4 separate regions of the Homo sapiens genome follow, and regions 1, 3 and 4 are each linked to region 2. Evidence: promoter capture Hi-C in human tissues and cell types (Jung and others, 2019). All regions are on one chromosome and are shown on one strand. Each heading gives the region's core, a stretch centred on a gene start or on the middle of the fragment in contact. The rest is flanking DNA. Distances are from core to core; before and after follow the strand shown. Region 1 has its middle 7.5 kb from the start of OR6B1. Region 2 holds the start of OR2F1 (olfactory receptor family 2 subfamily F member 1). Region 3 has its middle 13 kb from the start of TCAF1. Region 4 has its middle 16 kb from the start of OR6B1.

What was found. The method cuts DNA at HindIII sites, captures the fragments that hold promoters and counts their contacts. A contact is called where the count stands out against the background at its distance.
Region 1: a fragment that was not itself captured here is called in contact with the fragment with the promoter of OR2F1 in region 2 in 1 of the 25 tissues and cell types used here (hippocampus).
Region 3: a contact is called between a fragment that was not itself captured here and the fragment with the promoter of OR2F1 in region 2, in 5 of the 25 tissues and cell types used here (adrenal gland, aorta, hippocampus and 2 more).
Region 4: a contact is called between a fragment that was not itself captured here and the fragment with the promoter of OR2F1 in region 2, in 1 of the 25 tissues and cell types used here (liver).

What each region holds. Positions count from the first base shown.
Region 1 is chr7:143,990,807-143,994,846 of GRCh38, forward strand. No RefSeq gene overlaps it. Among named protein-coding and RNA genes, the nearest start is that of OR6B1, 7.5 kb to the right of the region's middle. The HindIII fragment of the contact is 6,072 bases long and covers 1-4,040 here.
Region 2 is chr7:143,952,207-143,956,397 of GRCh38, forward strand. OR2F1 (olfactory receptor family 2 subfamily F member 1) reads left to right here and starts at 2,638. Exons shown (of 3, transcript NM_012369.3): 1 at 2,638-2,897. The HindIII fragment of the contact is 7,987 bases long and covers 948-4,191 here.
Region 3 is chr7:143,913,171-143,916,959 of GRCh38, forward strand. No RefSeq gene overlaps it. Among named protein-coding and RNA genes, the nearest start is that of TCAF1, 13 kb to the left of the region's middle. The HindIII fragment of the contact is 8,681 bases long and covers 1-3,789 here.
Region 4 is chr7:144,014,041-144,017,874 of GRCh38, forward strand. No RefSeq gene overlaps it. Among named protein-coding and RNA genes, the nearest start is that of OR6B1, 16 kb to the left of the region's middle. The HindIII fragment of the contact is 3,640 bases long and covers 1-3,633 here.

The DNA.
Region 1 (4,040 bases), core at 1,397-3,896, 39 kb after region 2:
TTATGATTCATGGTAAAAACAATTCCAAAGAAATATAGACATTGACACAATCAGACATAACTATAAAATAACTGATTAACATATTAACATGTTTAAGAAAAGAGAAACCATGTTGGAGAATATTATCAAAAATCTGGAGTCTACTAAAAGGAATCAAATGGTGTTTTTAAATTTAATTTTTTAAAATAAAATTAACAGTCTCAATAGCAGACTAGAGAGAACTGCAGGGGATTTGTGAAGTAGAAGATAAGTCAGTAGAAAATAACCTGATTCAGGGGAGAAATAAAAAAAGAAGAAAAATTTAAAACAGCATTAGTGATTTATGGGATACGCTAAAAAGGTTTAACATTTGGATCATAATGAAAAGGTCTAACCTACTTGTAATTGCAGACTCTAACTGAAAGAAGAAAGATAATGGGAAAAAGAAATTTGTAAGACATAATGGCAAAACATTTTCAAAAATTTAATACAGTCATCAAAACACAGATGCATAAAGTGTTACAAATCTCAAACGGGAAAAATACAATAGAAACATACCTAGGTATATCAGAGTAAAACTGCTGCAAACCAAAGGTAACACAATTTTTCTTTTTCTTTTATTTATTTATAATTTATTTTTTAATTTTTTTGTGGGGTTGGTGCGACGGAGTCTCACTCTGCCGCCCAGGCTAGAGTACGGTGGCGCAGTCTCAGCTAACTGTAACCTCCATCTCCCTGGTTCAAGTAATTCCCCTGCCTCAGCCTCCCAAGTAGCTGGGATTACAGGCGCATGCCACCACACCTGGCTAACTTTTTTGTATTTTTAGTAGAGACGGGATTTCACCATGTTGGCCAGACTGGTCTCGAACTCCTGACCTCAGGCAATCCACCCACCTCAGCCTCCCAAAGTGCTGGGATTACAGGGGTGAGCCGACGCGCTCAACCACAATTTTTCTTTTTAAAGTATTCAGAGAAAGAAATAAAATTATCTTTAAAGAACCAAGATAGAAGCAAAATGTTTTCTTCCCTGAAGGAGGATGGGAAATCTCTCAGCTCCTACCATAAGCCTTGCAAACAAAATCAACATTTGTTTACCTCTGGAGAAAGGTCAGAAAGCCTTCTTGCCACTTGTCCAGACAAAAGTGAGTTGCTACTGAGGGAAAAGTAGAAGTAAAAGCAGTTTGCTCTTAGGGAAGAGGTAGAAATCCATTCAAGCTAGGATCCTGCCCTGCTACTAGGAGTCCACTAGGATAAGGGCAGAAACTCCCACCCATGACCAGTCACAAATAAAAAGTAGAGTCTGGCTGCCATGACTGGTGAGATGAGGTAGGAACACCACTTCCCAAGTCTCAGGTTTATAGGGGCTGACTAGGATGGAGGCTGGATCAGGGAAAACAAGGATATCTTTGCCCCTGTCACAAGCCTTGCACCAAGAAAAAATCAACAGCACCTATTTCCGGGAAAGAAGCCAAAGTATGGAGATACCTTGTATTACAAAGGCAATGCTACGCTTGGTAAAATTTGGGTAGAGCAGGAACACTGATTAAAATCTCCTATTTAGGTTCAACAAAGCATCATTCTTCATGGTCAGAAGAATTTGAAATCTGTGGAGCACTGCAAGTAATTATAGTAACAATACCCAAAACACCTCAACCACTTACACACATAGTCTGACAGAAGGACCAGCACCCCATTTTTAAGTATAAATACTCTATAGCCTAGTCTCTACTGTTCTTTTACCAACAATTTCCAGCATTTAATAAAAATTATATTTCAAAAGCAGCAAGAAAATACTTACTCATTGTTAAGTGAAAGCATTCAAAAGAATCAGAACCAGGAATGATCTAGACTGGATCTATCTATCAAACAGGAATTTTACCCTAACTATAATTAGGATATAGCAGAAAACATAAGCAATGTGCATGAGAACATGAGAAATTTTAGTAGAGCAATAAAACTGTTTCTTAAAGTAAAATAGAAATGCTAGAAACAAAAAAAAACAACATAAAAATAGATTATTTCTTTGATGGAGTTAAGACTATCACACAGGGAAGAGTCAGTGAACATGAGGTTATGGAAACAGAAATTATCCCAACTGGAATAAAAAGAGAAGAGTGAGTGGATAAAAATAGAACAAGCTGTACAACAACATAAAACAATCTAACAGATGTTTAATTTGAGTCTAAGAAGAAGACAGAGTAACAAGGCAAATGAAATATTTTCAGATATCATGGCTAAAAGTTTTGCAAAATCAATGAAATAAATCCCAGATTCAAGAAGCTCAGAGAATCCTAAGCAGGATAGAGAAAAAAATCATATTCAAATTGCCAAAACTCAGATACCAAAATAAAATCTTGAAGATGTGTATAGAAAAAGAAATATTATACACACATACAAAGATAAAATTACAACCCATTTATCATCAGAAATGAGGCACAGCATAAGACAAAGGAGGGCACCTTTAAAATGCTGACAAGAAAAAAACTCTCATCTAGAAATCTATACACAGTGAGAATTTCTTTCAAATATAAGCATGGAATACTTTTTCAGATAAACAAAACTGACGTACTTTATCACATGTGAGTACACTGCAAGAAATATTAAATAAAGTTCTTCAGGAAGAAGAAATGTGATACCAAATGGAAATTTGAACCTACAAAAGAAATGAAGAGTGCCAGAGATGGCAAAAATAATGAAGGCAAAAAAGATTTATTTTTATTAATTGTAAATAAGAACTGACTGAATAAAGTAAAAGTAGTAACTGTATTGTGGAGTAAAAGTAAATGTATTGTGAAGTTTATAACACACTTAGAAATAAATGCCAACAACCATAGCACAAAGATGAGAGGGAAAAAAATGGAAGTGAACCGTTGTAATATTTTTACATGTTTTGTAAAGGACTATAATATTATTTAAAATTGGACTATGATAGACTAAATATTTATGTTTTAGGCTGGGCACGGTGGCCCGCGCCTGTAATCCCAGAACTTTGGGAGTCCGAGGTGGGTGGATCACCTGCAGTCAGGAGTTCGAGACCAGCCTGGCCAACATGGCGAAACCCTGTCTCTACTAAAAATATAAAAATTAGCTTGGCATGGTGGTGGGCACCTGTAATCCCAGCTAATCAGGAGGCTGAGGCAGAAGAACTGCTGGAACTTGGGAGGCGGAGGTTGCAGTGAGCTGAGATCACGCCATTGCACTCCTGCTTGGGTGACAAGACCAAAACTGCGTTTCAAAAAAAATAAATAAAAATAAAAATAAGTTATGTTTTAAAATTTAGAGCAACTAGTAAACACATTTAAACAAAGGTATAACTAATAAGCCAATATTAGGTATAAGATGAAATTATTAAAATTAATTAATAAAAAGGCAAAAGTGTAGAAAAAGAAAACAAAAGCAAAAGCAACAACAACAAAAAAAACAAATAGCAAAATGGTACACCTAAATACACCTTCATCCTCTAATAGCAGTAAAGGTAAATAATCTAAAACACAATGATTAAAAAGCAGAGAACAACATATAGAATTGAATAGAAAGACCCAACTGTGTGCTCTCTACAATCAATGAACTCATTTTTAATATAAAATAATAAATTGATTAAATGTAAAAAGATAGTGAAGATCTACCATGCAACACTATGTCAGAAAGCTGGAGTGACTATAATAATTTCTAATAAATTCCCATAAGAAGGTATATTACCAGAATTAACATAGGATATTGTATAATAAGGGAGTTGATTTTTCAAGACAATATAATAATTTTAACAATTTAATAATAGCACTAAAAATACAGAAAGAATAGACAAACCCATCATTATTAGTGAAGATGTTAACATAATTTTCTCAGTATTTGATAGATCAAGTAAACGATAAGAAAGTCAGCAAATATGGACGACCTGAACAACACCATCAACTAGATTAACCTAATTGACATTTTTATAAAATTCTACTCAGCAATAGAAGACTACAAATGTCAACATATTTGAAATTGAAATTATACAAATATTTTCTTTTAACATAATGATATTAAATTAGAAATAAGGAAGTGATATTAAATAAGAA
Region 2 (4,191 bases), core at 1,388-3,887:
CGTCTCACCCTAAGTATTGAAACAAATGTAATAAAATAATTTTGTTTTCCAGAAGCTGGAGAACTAACTACACTTTCATTTTATGGGTTTCTCAATTTCAATCTTTATTACTAGTAGAAAAGAAGAGAGAGTGAAAACAGAGGTTGGGGAAGAAAATAATTATTAATTTTTAAATAGAGATACCATGGATGAATTCTACATTATTTTTGGGAAAGACACTTAGAGGAGAAACTCGTAGCTATAAAACTTTTACTTAGATGTTGATTGATATCCATGAACATGTGGCAGGAATATATTACCTTTCCAAATATGTATATTTCCAGATAAATTGTCAATTGTTTTAATGTCTTTTCTCTCAATTATTTCCCTAAGAGTATTTTGATTTTAATTTTCCTTTCTATGATGGAAATTTTAAATGTAAGATGATGAAATAAATTGATAGATGTCTACAGCTCTCAGAATATGAACTGGTACTACAGTTGATGCCCCTGACTCAGGCTTCGTTAATCTAGAGTGTGTTGTAGAGTTGAGACTATTGATAGTCACTGTTGAGACTATCCAGACTAAGGAAATTATGTGCAAAAGAATACCCTAGACTTAGATATAGAAGAGAGGAGATATAAAGAAGATGAGCATTTACAGAATGAAACCATGATAAAACATATCGGCAAAGGCGAATTTTAGGATTGCACCATATTTGAGACACTGGGTCTAATAATTGGACTCAGATTATATGAAAAGTCAACCAAATCAAGACAGGAAATAGACAACAAGGTCTCAAAGAAGAAAGACTAATTGTCTTCTCAGGATATCTAAAACCATCTTTGAGATCTCACCCACCCAGTGGCACTTGGGTTCTGGGTGTCCAAATGTTAGGATGATGGAAATACTTCTGCCCATGATGGATGCATTCAGCGTATACAACCAAGTGCTCAACCGCAGGTCAGATGCACCTTCCTCTAAATGAAATGAACATTTCTAATGACAGCCCAAGTCTGTAAAGGAAGGTGTCTGGTTTATTTAGAGCAGCATGAAAGAAAAACGTATGTTTTTTTGTGGGACTTAACCTTCATGTGCTCTGTTGAATACAGAGTATTCAGAGCTCTATTTGCCTCAGCTAAGATTGTAGAGGACTCCAATAAGAAGGGCAAATAGGATTAAAACTCAGTGGAGTATTAGAATCATGGTGTACTCATTTTCTGGAGAGAAAGTTTTTGGCTTTTTAGTCCTTAGCTTTAGGGAATTATCACTATAATGAATAAGAGAATATTGGTAATATGCCCCGAAGCCTCAGTATGTCTCAGAATAAATTTACAAGGCTCTTACAAGGTTTTATTTAACCATGCACTCTTTGAATTGATGTAAATATTGGAAAGGATTATATTCAGAAATATATTTTTGGAATGTGAGACATTGAGGAATGCTTTTCTGGCGTGCATACCTCCTGAGTCTTTCCAAGTCAACACTTCCCTCTTCCTAATATGGAGGAAAAGGGAGAAGTTAATGTCTTAAGCCAGCCAGTCAATAGAGGTAGAAAATTATGTTAGATACTTTAAAATGTATAATACACTGACTGGGGTAGGATAGCAAATCATGGAACTCAATGTTGCGAATGGAAAATATACCTAGGTGTCAAGCCCTGGACATTTGATTCCTTGCAAGAATAAATTGAATATATTTCAGTCTTGGTCCACAGAGTAGCAATGGAATTTAAATGCAATTAAAAATAATAAAACAAAAATGTGAACAGCAGCACGTGAAGACATTTCCAGAGCCCCACAAATTATGATCCTGTCTGCGTGGCACCAACACAGTGATAAGTTCTGTCAATGCCTGATTGATCTTTAACTATGGGTCTGGCTTCTCATCTTTTACTTGATGAACAGTGGCTCATGGTTCCTCCAACGTCTTCTCATTTCATTAAAGCAGCAATAGGGGGAGGATGTGGCAAAAGGCTGAAAAGGAACTTTAGGGGAGAAGTCATTGTTGCTTGGGGCTGTACCCTTTCTTCTCAGCATTCTGCAGAGCTGTAGGGAGCTGAGCATGGATGGCACCCCCATCTCGGAGATCAACTCTTCAGGGTTAAATAAAATTCTAACAGACTAGTTGGCGGAATGATTGCATAATTTCAAAATACCAGATGTTTACAACAAATATTAACATATATCACTGCCTAAGAATTTACTATGAGTAAGATATTTAACTTCACTTAAGATCTTGCCTTTCCCTGTGTTCTTTTTAAGAAGGGGAGAGGAAAAGGCAATTTTAGAACAGGGGCCACATCTGCTGGAAGGCAGGCCTGAATATAGAGAGCTACAGAGACTTGCATGGAGCTTTTTGGCTCATAGATAAGGGGTTAGAATATAAATTCAGAGAAAGGAAGGCAGGAACGTCTATATAGCCCAATTTTATCTACCCCATCCAGATAAAGGCTAGTCCAGGTTTGAACATCTGCTAACATGGTTCTGTGAATTTTTCACTCTTCATCTTCTTCAGGTGACATATATTTTCAGTCAAAGATATTATAAGATGGTAGTCGATTGAAACAATAAGAAAAAGAGTAATGGGTGAATTTACCGAGATAGGATAGGTTGAAAAAGAACATTTAATTTGTTGCAATTTAGATTTAATTTTTATAATAAAGAAAATAGATTCCATGGAATCAATGAATTGATTTGCTTTACTAAAGAGAGATCTTGACTGATTGAAATTTAACTGTTAAATTAGAGTTTTTTTGTTATGTAAAATGAACTGTGTGAGGAATCTAAACACTTATTTTTTTGTTCTTTCTTTGTCGTTGATAGAAGAATATTTCAGTCCTGATATTTGCTGTAACTAATAATTACTGGATAAACAGAGAAGACACATGGAGGATATTTTACCTGGGTCCAACAAAAGTAATTTTGTTTTATTTATTTGTTTGACAAATAAAAATTGTATATATTTATGGCATAGATTTTAAGAAATCTTGTTACAAAAATAATATGTATGTGATGTGATGCATATATTAATTAGCTTAACTTAGCCATTCCAATAAAGGTAATATTTATCTAGAAAATTTTGAGCTTTGCTATTCATACCTCTTCTCTGATTTTTTTCCTGTAATTTTCAGGTTATTTACATCTAAAACTCCAGCTTTTACTATTATGTGATGTAAAGGATCAGTGTAAGCTGTTATACCAGTTGATAATGTTTAGGTACTTTATATTATAAAAGTTTCATTTAGCATTATTGCATTTTTAAACATTTCACAAAAAAGGACAATGTGCAACATAAATGTAATACATTTCAGGAATTAGAGACAGGGCTTTAAAAAAGATAATCATTCACAGAATATTTCAATAGCACCTGTCTTACTATATCACACATTGTTTTCTATTTCTTATGGTCACAGTGATTATCCTACATTCACCCCAATTCATAAAACACAGGAAGCAGTAATTCCTTTTTTCATTGTGATCCTGTTTATGGAGGTGAACCACAGGGTATGCCATTTTTCAGTACTGTGTTCTGAGCAGGCAGCGTGAATTGGTTATTTTCAATGGTCAAAAGAAAGCTCAGAACACATATAGAAAAAATTGATTTGATGTTTGTTGAGTATGAAGATGATATAACTCTAAGAATGTAAAATAGAATTTTATTGCTTACTAAAGCAACATTAGATGCCTGGCAAAAAGGTAATGTTGTTGGTGTTGGACAAGTACTGTGAAGAGCACAAAAGTCACACTTGTACACCACAAAGAGCTAAATAGGACTATTAGCTGTGTTCATTGTCCAATACTGGTTTTGTAACTTGGCTGCATGCTTGTATTAAGAGGTTTTGGTAGTTGTGTTTGTACAGACAAATTGAAGAAATATTCTCACATTTTTTCCTTAGTTAGTTGACCTCAATGAATGTCACCGGTGTAGGGAAAGTATAGATTCCACAGATTAGAGCAGTAAAGATCAAGCTCTGGCTTCCTATAGAAGTGGTTGGATATGAAGCATGTTACCTGACACCTAGTCCATTCACCTTGATATAAGAATAGAAAGCCAGTTATATTTAGCTGGAAGGTGAGCCCAGAATAATATGGAGATGGTTTTAACTGAAGGTGCATTAAAATCATCTGGCTCATACATATTTCCTCCTTCAACTGGCTTTCCAAATGCAGATGATATTTACATTTTCTTTGTCTAACATCAGTCCATAAA
Region 3 (3,789 bases), core at 217-2,716, 40 kb before region 2:
GATTTGATTCATACTCATTTCATTATCAGTGAAGTTGACCTTGTTTTCATGCATTTATTTTTTTAATAGCTTTATTTAGGTGTAACTGACCTACAATAAACAGCACATATTAACAGTGTAAAACTTGATAAGTTTTGATATCTGTATATGCCAGTGGAAACATTACTACAATCAAGAAAATGAACATTTGGAGATGATCTCCAAGACTTTCCCTATGCTCATTTACAATCCCTCTCTTCTACTCATCTCTGACTTAAAAGATGTGGCTCCTCTATCTTTGGCTTGCGTTGTTTATGATAAGTCAGCTTTCATCATTATTTTTGTAGTTTTGTATGTATATTTTTTCCCTCTGACGATTTTTAAGGTTTTCTCTTTATTACTCATTTTAAGCAATTTATTATATGTCTTAGTATAGTTTTATGTGTGTGTGTGTGTGTGTGTGTTTGGGGATCACCAAGGTTCTTTGAACTTTGGATTTATAGTTTTCGTCCAATTTGGTAATTGAGGGGGAATTCTTTCTCCAAATATTTTTCCAATTACATGTAAACTAGGTAGATTAAGTTTCTCATATTTTATATATGCTCAGTTAGATTTTTGCTCTTTTTTCTCTTTGTATTTCATTTTGAATAGTTCCTATTGCTGTGTCACCAACTTAACTAATTTTTTTTTTACAGTGCATAATCCTGCTGTTAATTCCATCCAGTTGTGTTTTTCTCTTAGGAACCGTATTTTTCATGTCTAGAAGTTAGTTTTGGTTCTTTAAAAATATTTTCCATGACTTTAATCTTTTAAACATATGATTGCAGTTATAATAATTGCTTTGATGTTTTTGAGTGCTAGTTCAAATGCCTGTGCTAGATTTGGGTCTTCTTTTAATCTTAATTTTTTTTTAGAGGTGGAATCTCACTATGTTGCTCAGGCTGGAGTGCTGTGGCTACTTCACAGGTGAGATCATACCACACTACATCCTCAAACTCCTGGGCTCAAACAACCCTCTCACTTCAGCCTACCAAGTGGGTCTTTCTTGACTGATAGTTTCCTTCTTAAAATTGGTCATATTTTCCTGCTCCTTTGTATACATGGTTGATAGTCATTGTGAGTTTTTGTCATTTTGCGTGCTGGATATTTTTGTATTCCTCTAAATATTCATGAACTTTGTTCTGGCATTCAGTTAAATTACCTGGAATTAGTTTGATCCTTTTGGGTCTTGCTTTTCGAATTTGTTAGGTAGGACCAGAGCAGCATTTACCCTAGGGTTAATTATTCACCACTGCTGAGGGAAGAAGCTCTAAGTACTCTATGCAAAGGGTTATAAATTATCAGGGTTTTTTTTTTTTTTCTGGTCTGATTGATGGGAATAAGCATTGGTACTGGCCCATTGTAGCGCTGGGTTTTGTTCCTTTTAACCCTTGAAGGTAGTTATTTTCTGGTCTCAAGTATTTTATAATGGTGTATAACAGCCAAAACTCTCTTGAAAAAGAATTACAAATTCAGAGGATTTGCACTATTTGCATCTAAGCCTTACTATAAGGCTACAGTAATTAAGAAAGTGTGGTGTTTTTAAAAGATCATGATGAAACCCCGTCTCCACCAGAAATTCAAAAATTAGCCGAGTGTTGTGGCGGTGGCCTTTACCGAGTTTCCATATATCATCATCATCATTATCATCATCATCCAGTATTTATAGTTGCAAGCAACAGATGAAAACTTTGGCTAGTTTTAGCAGAAAACACATTTATTAAGGAGTATTAATAGCTCACGTAATCTCTGAGAATAATGCTTGGAGTTGACTACCGTCAAGAAAAACATTTAAAAAATCATTCTACAGAAGTGATTCTATGAAGGCATTGATGCAGTTTTTTTGGGGGGGAGGCACAGACAGGGTAGTGTGTGCTGCTGATACCCATGGTACACCGGATAATCCTAGAATTGTTAACACTAGTTATTCAGGAAACTGGACTTGCTACTGCCTCTAGTGTCAGTCTCACCACATTTAATTCTGGGCAGTTCCTCCCTTTTTGTATCACTAGTCCTTGACTGGCACAAAAACACCTGAGTAATAGAGACCGGGTCACAAACCTGTGCCCCTACTGCAGAAGATGCTGAGAATATTTTAGCCTCTCCTAAGAGAGGATACCCCAAGCATCAAAGGAAGAAGACGCTGGACAGAAAAACAACATCATGACAGATGTTTACATTTCACATCTTTGGCTCCTCCAACATACATACACTTCTTTCTTCTCATGTTAACAATGCCTCCCACTTAAAACGTTCTCATCTGACACTGTGCACAGTTGGAACACACTAGCCGTCTTCTCAGATGATGTCAGAGTTTCACCCATCTCCGAGACTGGATGTTTTCAACAAATACCAGGCCTCCTCTGGAATGTCAAAATCCTGCCTTGATATTCTATAACCTGTGGACCAATCTGAAAAATGTGCTGCTATGAACAAACCCAAATAAAATAGTAAGGGACAGGAGATGAATGAAGAATTAATAAAACATACCAATATACATGTGACACATCAAGGAGAAAAATTTGTGAAGACGCTATATCCTCATTTCTGTGACTGGCCACGTGGTCACAGTGTTTGTGACTTTTCTGCTCCACCCATTCCATAATCCCTTTGCCCTCACCCAGCTCCTTAGCTTGTTTGGATTATTCACCCAAGGGGTTATCCGAATCTTCATTCTGAAGAAGGAATGTTAGAGTGGGCATTAAGTATGTGGAAACTGAATATCATGTACCTCACAGTCAATCTATTAGACTTCTATTTTTCTCTTTTTTATTTAATAGCCTTGTTTTTTTTTTAATTCTTTTTAATTTTTGAGATGGAGTCTTGCTCTGTCACCTAGGCTGGAGCGCAGTGGCACAATCTCGGCACACTGCAACCTCTGCCTCCCAGGTTCAAGCAATTCTCCTGCCTCAGCCTCCCGAGTAGCTGGGATTACAGGCAGCCACCACCACACCTGGCTGATTTTTTGGTATTTTTAGTAGACACGGGATTTCACCATCTTGGCCAGGCTGGTCTTCAACTCTTGACCTCGTGATCCATTCGCCTCGGCCTTTCAAAGTGCTGGGATTACAGGCATGAGCCATGGCGCCCAGCCCAGCCTTAAGTTTTTAGGATAGCATTTTACCAGCCAGTGCTAATAAATTAAATTCCTGTGGGCCAGCTTGAGACTACAGGCACTCCTACTTAGTAGTTGCTTATGAAAGATATTTGGACATATAGGAGGAAGGAAGGAGCTATTGATACAAGGGCAAAATAAGATGAAATTCTAACCAAGAAAGCCGTTAAGAAGAAATTTGTTTTTTAAAATCGAGCACCAGAAAATATTTGAGAATAAAAATCGGATTTTCCAATAGGCATGAAGACATCTTTGAAGGTTACCTGTAAAACAAGCCCTCTGGGGACATTTTCTTTCACTTGATCTTAGCCAAAAGGCTGAGAAGCAATGGACATTTGGCTTTCAAAGACTGACTTCTCTTTAAATCTCCATAGGCCTTTATGATAATTGGTCGCTATGGATAACATTACTTAATATGTGTAATTTTAGAACATGTATAAATAGTCGTTTTTTGGTTAATCAAAAATATCTTGATTTGTCTTTCTATTTTCTGCATTGTATAAAGGCGAACAAAGGATTTTAGTATATTCCTAATTTTAAAAATGATGCATTTGAGTAATTTTTGATACAACAGGTGTTAACAGTGAAAAATATACCCTTTGGAACCTGGATCTGACTACTCTTCTGGCTCTGGAGGCAACAGAACCATATGCTGG
Region 4 (3,834 bases), core at 564-3,063, 61 kb after region 2:
TAAGACTGGAATGCTAAATCACAGGATATGAATATGCCCAGCCTGATAACATATTGTGAAATAGTTTTTCAAAGTGGGCTGTACCAATTTACACTCCCATCAGCACTGTATGAGCAGTTGAGAAGGTAGTTTTAAATGATTAAAACTTCTAAATTAAGTGGAAACATTCTATTATAAAGAGACATGCATGCATATGTTCAGTGCAGCACTATTCGCAATAGCAAAGACAGGCAATCAATCTAAATGCCCATCAATGATAGGCTGGATAAAGAAAATGTTGTATATATACACCATGGAATACTATTTAGCCATAGAAAGAATGAGATCATGTCCTTTGTGGGAACATAGATGGAGCTGGAGGCCATTATCCTTAGCAAGGTAACACAAGAACAGAAAACCAACTACCACATGTTCTCATTTATAAGTGGGAGTTAAATGATAAGAACACATGAATGCATAGAGGGGAATAACACACACTGGGGCCTATCAGAGGGTGGAGGGTGGGAGAAGGAAGAGGATCAGGAAAAACAACTAATGGGTACCAGGCTTAATACGTGGGTGATGAAATAATCTCCACAACAAACCTCCATAACACAAGTTTACCTATGTAACAAACCTGAATTTGTATTCCTGAACTTAAAATAAAAGTTAAAAAAATCAAATGAAAAGTTTTTTTCCAAATGGAAAAAAATTCCATGCTCATGGATAGGAAGAATCAATATTGTGAAAATGGCCATACTGCCCAAAGTAATTTATAGATTCAAAGCTATTCTCATCAAGCTACCATTGACTTTTTTCACAGAATTAGAAAAAACTGCTTTAAATTTCATATGGAACCAAAAAAGAGCCTGTATAGCCAAGACAATCCTAAGCAAAAAAACAAAGCTGGAGGCATCACACTACCTGACTTCAAACTATACTGCAAGTCTACAGTAACCAAAACAGCATGGTACTGGTACCAAAACAGATATACAGACAAATGGAACAGAACAGAGACCTCATAAATAACACCTACACATCTACAACCATCTGAACTTCAACAAACCTGAAAAAAGCAAGCAATGGGGAAAGGACTCTCTATTTCATAAATGGTGCTGGGAAAACTGGCTAGCCATATGCAGAAAAGTGAAACTGGATGCCTTTCTTACACCTTATACCAAAATTATCTCAAGATGGATTAAAGGCTTACATGTAAGACCTAAAACCATAAAAACCCTAGCATAAAACCTAGGCAATACCATTCAGGACATAGGCATGGGCAAAGACTTCATGACTAAAACACTGAAAGCAATTGCAACAAAAGCCAAAGCAGACAAATGGGATCCAATTAAACTAAAGAGCTTCTGCACAGCAAAAGAAACTATCAGCAGAGTGAACAGGCAACCTACAGAATGGAAGAAAACTTTTGCAATCTATCCATCTGACAAAGGGCTAATATCCAGAATCTACAAGGAACATAAACAAATTTACAAGAAAAAAAAAACCCCATCAAAAAGTGGGCAAATGATATGAACAGACACTTCTCAAAATAAGACATTTATGGAGCCAACAGACATATGAAAAAAAGCTTATCAACACTGGTCATTAGAGAAATGCAAATCAAAACCACAATGAGATACCATCTCACGCCAGTTAGAATGGTGATCACTAAAACGTCAGGAAACAACAGATGCTGGCGAGGATGTGGAGACATAGGAACACTTTTACACTGTTGGTGGGAGTGTAAATTAGTTCAACCCTTGTGAAAGACAGTGTGGCGATTCCTCAAGGATCTAGAACTAGAAATACCATTGACCCAGCAATCCCATTACTGGGTATATATCGAAAGGATTATAAATCATTCTACTATAAAGACACATGCAAACATATGTTTATTACAGCACTATTTACAATAGCAAAGCCTTGGAACCAACCCAAATGCCCATCAATGATAGGCTTGATAAAGAAAATGTGGCACATATATACCATGGAATACTATGCAGCCATAAAAAAGAATGAGTTCTTGTCCTTTGCAGGGATGTGGATGAAGCTGGAAACCATCATTCTCAGCAAACTAACACAGGAACAGAAAACCAAACACCACATGCTCTCACTTATAAATGGAAGTTGAACATTGAGAACACATGGACACAGGGAGGGGAACATCACATACCTGTGCCTGCCAGGGGGTGGGGGTGCAAGGGGAGGGAGAGCATTAGGACAAATACCTAATGCATGCGGGGCCTAAAACCTAGATGATGGGTTGATGGGTGCAGCAAACCACCATGGCACATGTATACCTATGTAACAAACCTGCATGTTCTGCACATGTATCCCAGAACTTAAAGTATAATTTAAAAAAAAGAAAGAAAAGTTTATTTTCATAATGAGAAATTCATATCACATTAAAATATAATAATATAATAAAATATTTTAAAAGTAATTATAATGTAGATACTTTATATTTACACATGAATACAAACAACTGGGACTAAGAGTTATTATTATAATCTTATTTTTATGTTTATTTAGGAAGTTACAGGATAGTTACCTCTGTACCCATTAGGAAGAAAAATTGGGGGATATAAATAAATACCTTTATGCTTGAGTTTGGAAACCACTTGGAAGAAGTTGTAACATCCAAGGATTGTGAATATTCAAACACAGTATATCTAGTCTAATCTATCTAAAATTACAACTCTGGAAATTTAGATTGCAAATAATACCCAATTAACACTCCTGAAAAAGCCTCTCACACATAGAAAGACAAAAATTTACAGGTATATTGATAATTAGCTATATAAAGGAGCTCTTAACATTTAGTTTGTGCTTGTCTCGCAAACTGGGAAAAGAGAGCTGATGAGAATCCTCAGCACAGTCAGTACAACAAACTTAAGATGAGCAACACGGTCAATGGCTGTGATGCTGCTCTAAGAAAAGACATAGAACTTTCCATGTGTCCTTGCTGCCCCAAATATGTAGAGATATGTTCATTTCCAATAATGTTTTACACTCTAAGAAAATCAGAAGCAGTTGGGCCAATGAAAAGTAACTTCCTACCTCTGGTGACAGTGACAGCATGGCACGTGGGGTTATTATAGGTATAAGTAAGCTGAGCCCTGGTCACAGGAAGGGAAGCTGTGAGAACTATCCTGCTTGCCCAGATAATGTTTTGAGTTCCAACACTTGAATAGACATCTAAAGTCAGGGCCAAGAATGGTTAAAACACAGCCAAGAGGCTGGGTGCGGTGGCTCACGCCTGCAATCCCAGCACTTTGGGAGGCCAAGGCGGGCGGTCAGGAGTTCGGGACCAGCCTGACCAAAGTGGTGAAACCCCGTCGCTACTAAAAACACAAAAAAATTAGCCAGGTGTGGTGGCGGGTGCCTATGGTCCCAGCTACTCAGGAGGCTGAGGCAGGAGAATCACTTGAATCCGGGTGGCAGAGGTTGCAGTGAGCCGAGATCACGCCATTGCACTCCAGCCTGGGTGACAGAGCGATACTCCGTCTCAAAAAACAAACAAACAAACAAACAAACAAACAAAAACATAGCCAAGAGAGCTGTTATTTATTCTCTCTAATCACCTGTACCCTGAGAGTATGAGCAGACTGCATCCTTCCTAGGAACCAAGAGTGGGAAATTGGGGACTGCTTTCCTATTTTGTCCACTATAACTTAATTAACTGTTTTTTTTTTTCTTAAATAGATCCCTATGTTAACAATCTACTACCTTGTATATAGTGGGTTTCTCTAACCAGATCCCTCTAATCTGGGAATGATCACCAGACCGAAGCCCAAGACTGGCACTGCCTAATGCCATAGTCTGGGCTGAATGAAACAATTATAAGGAAGGAAA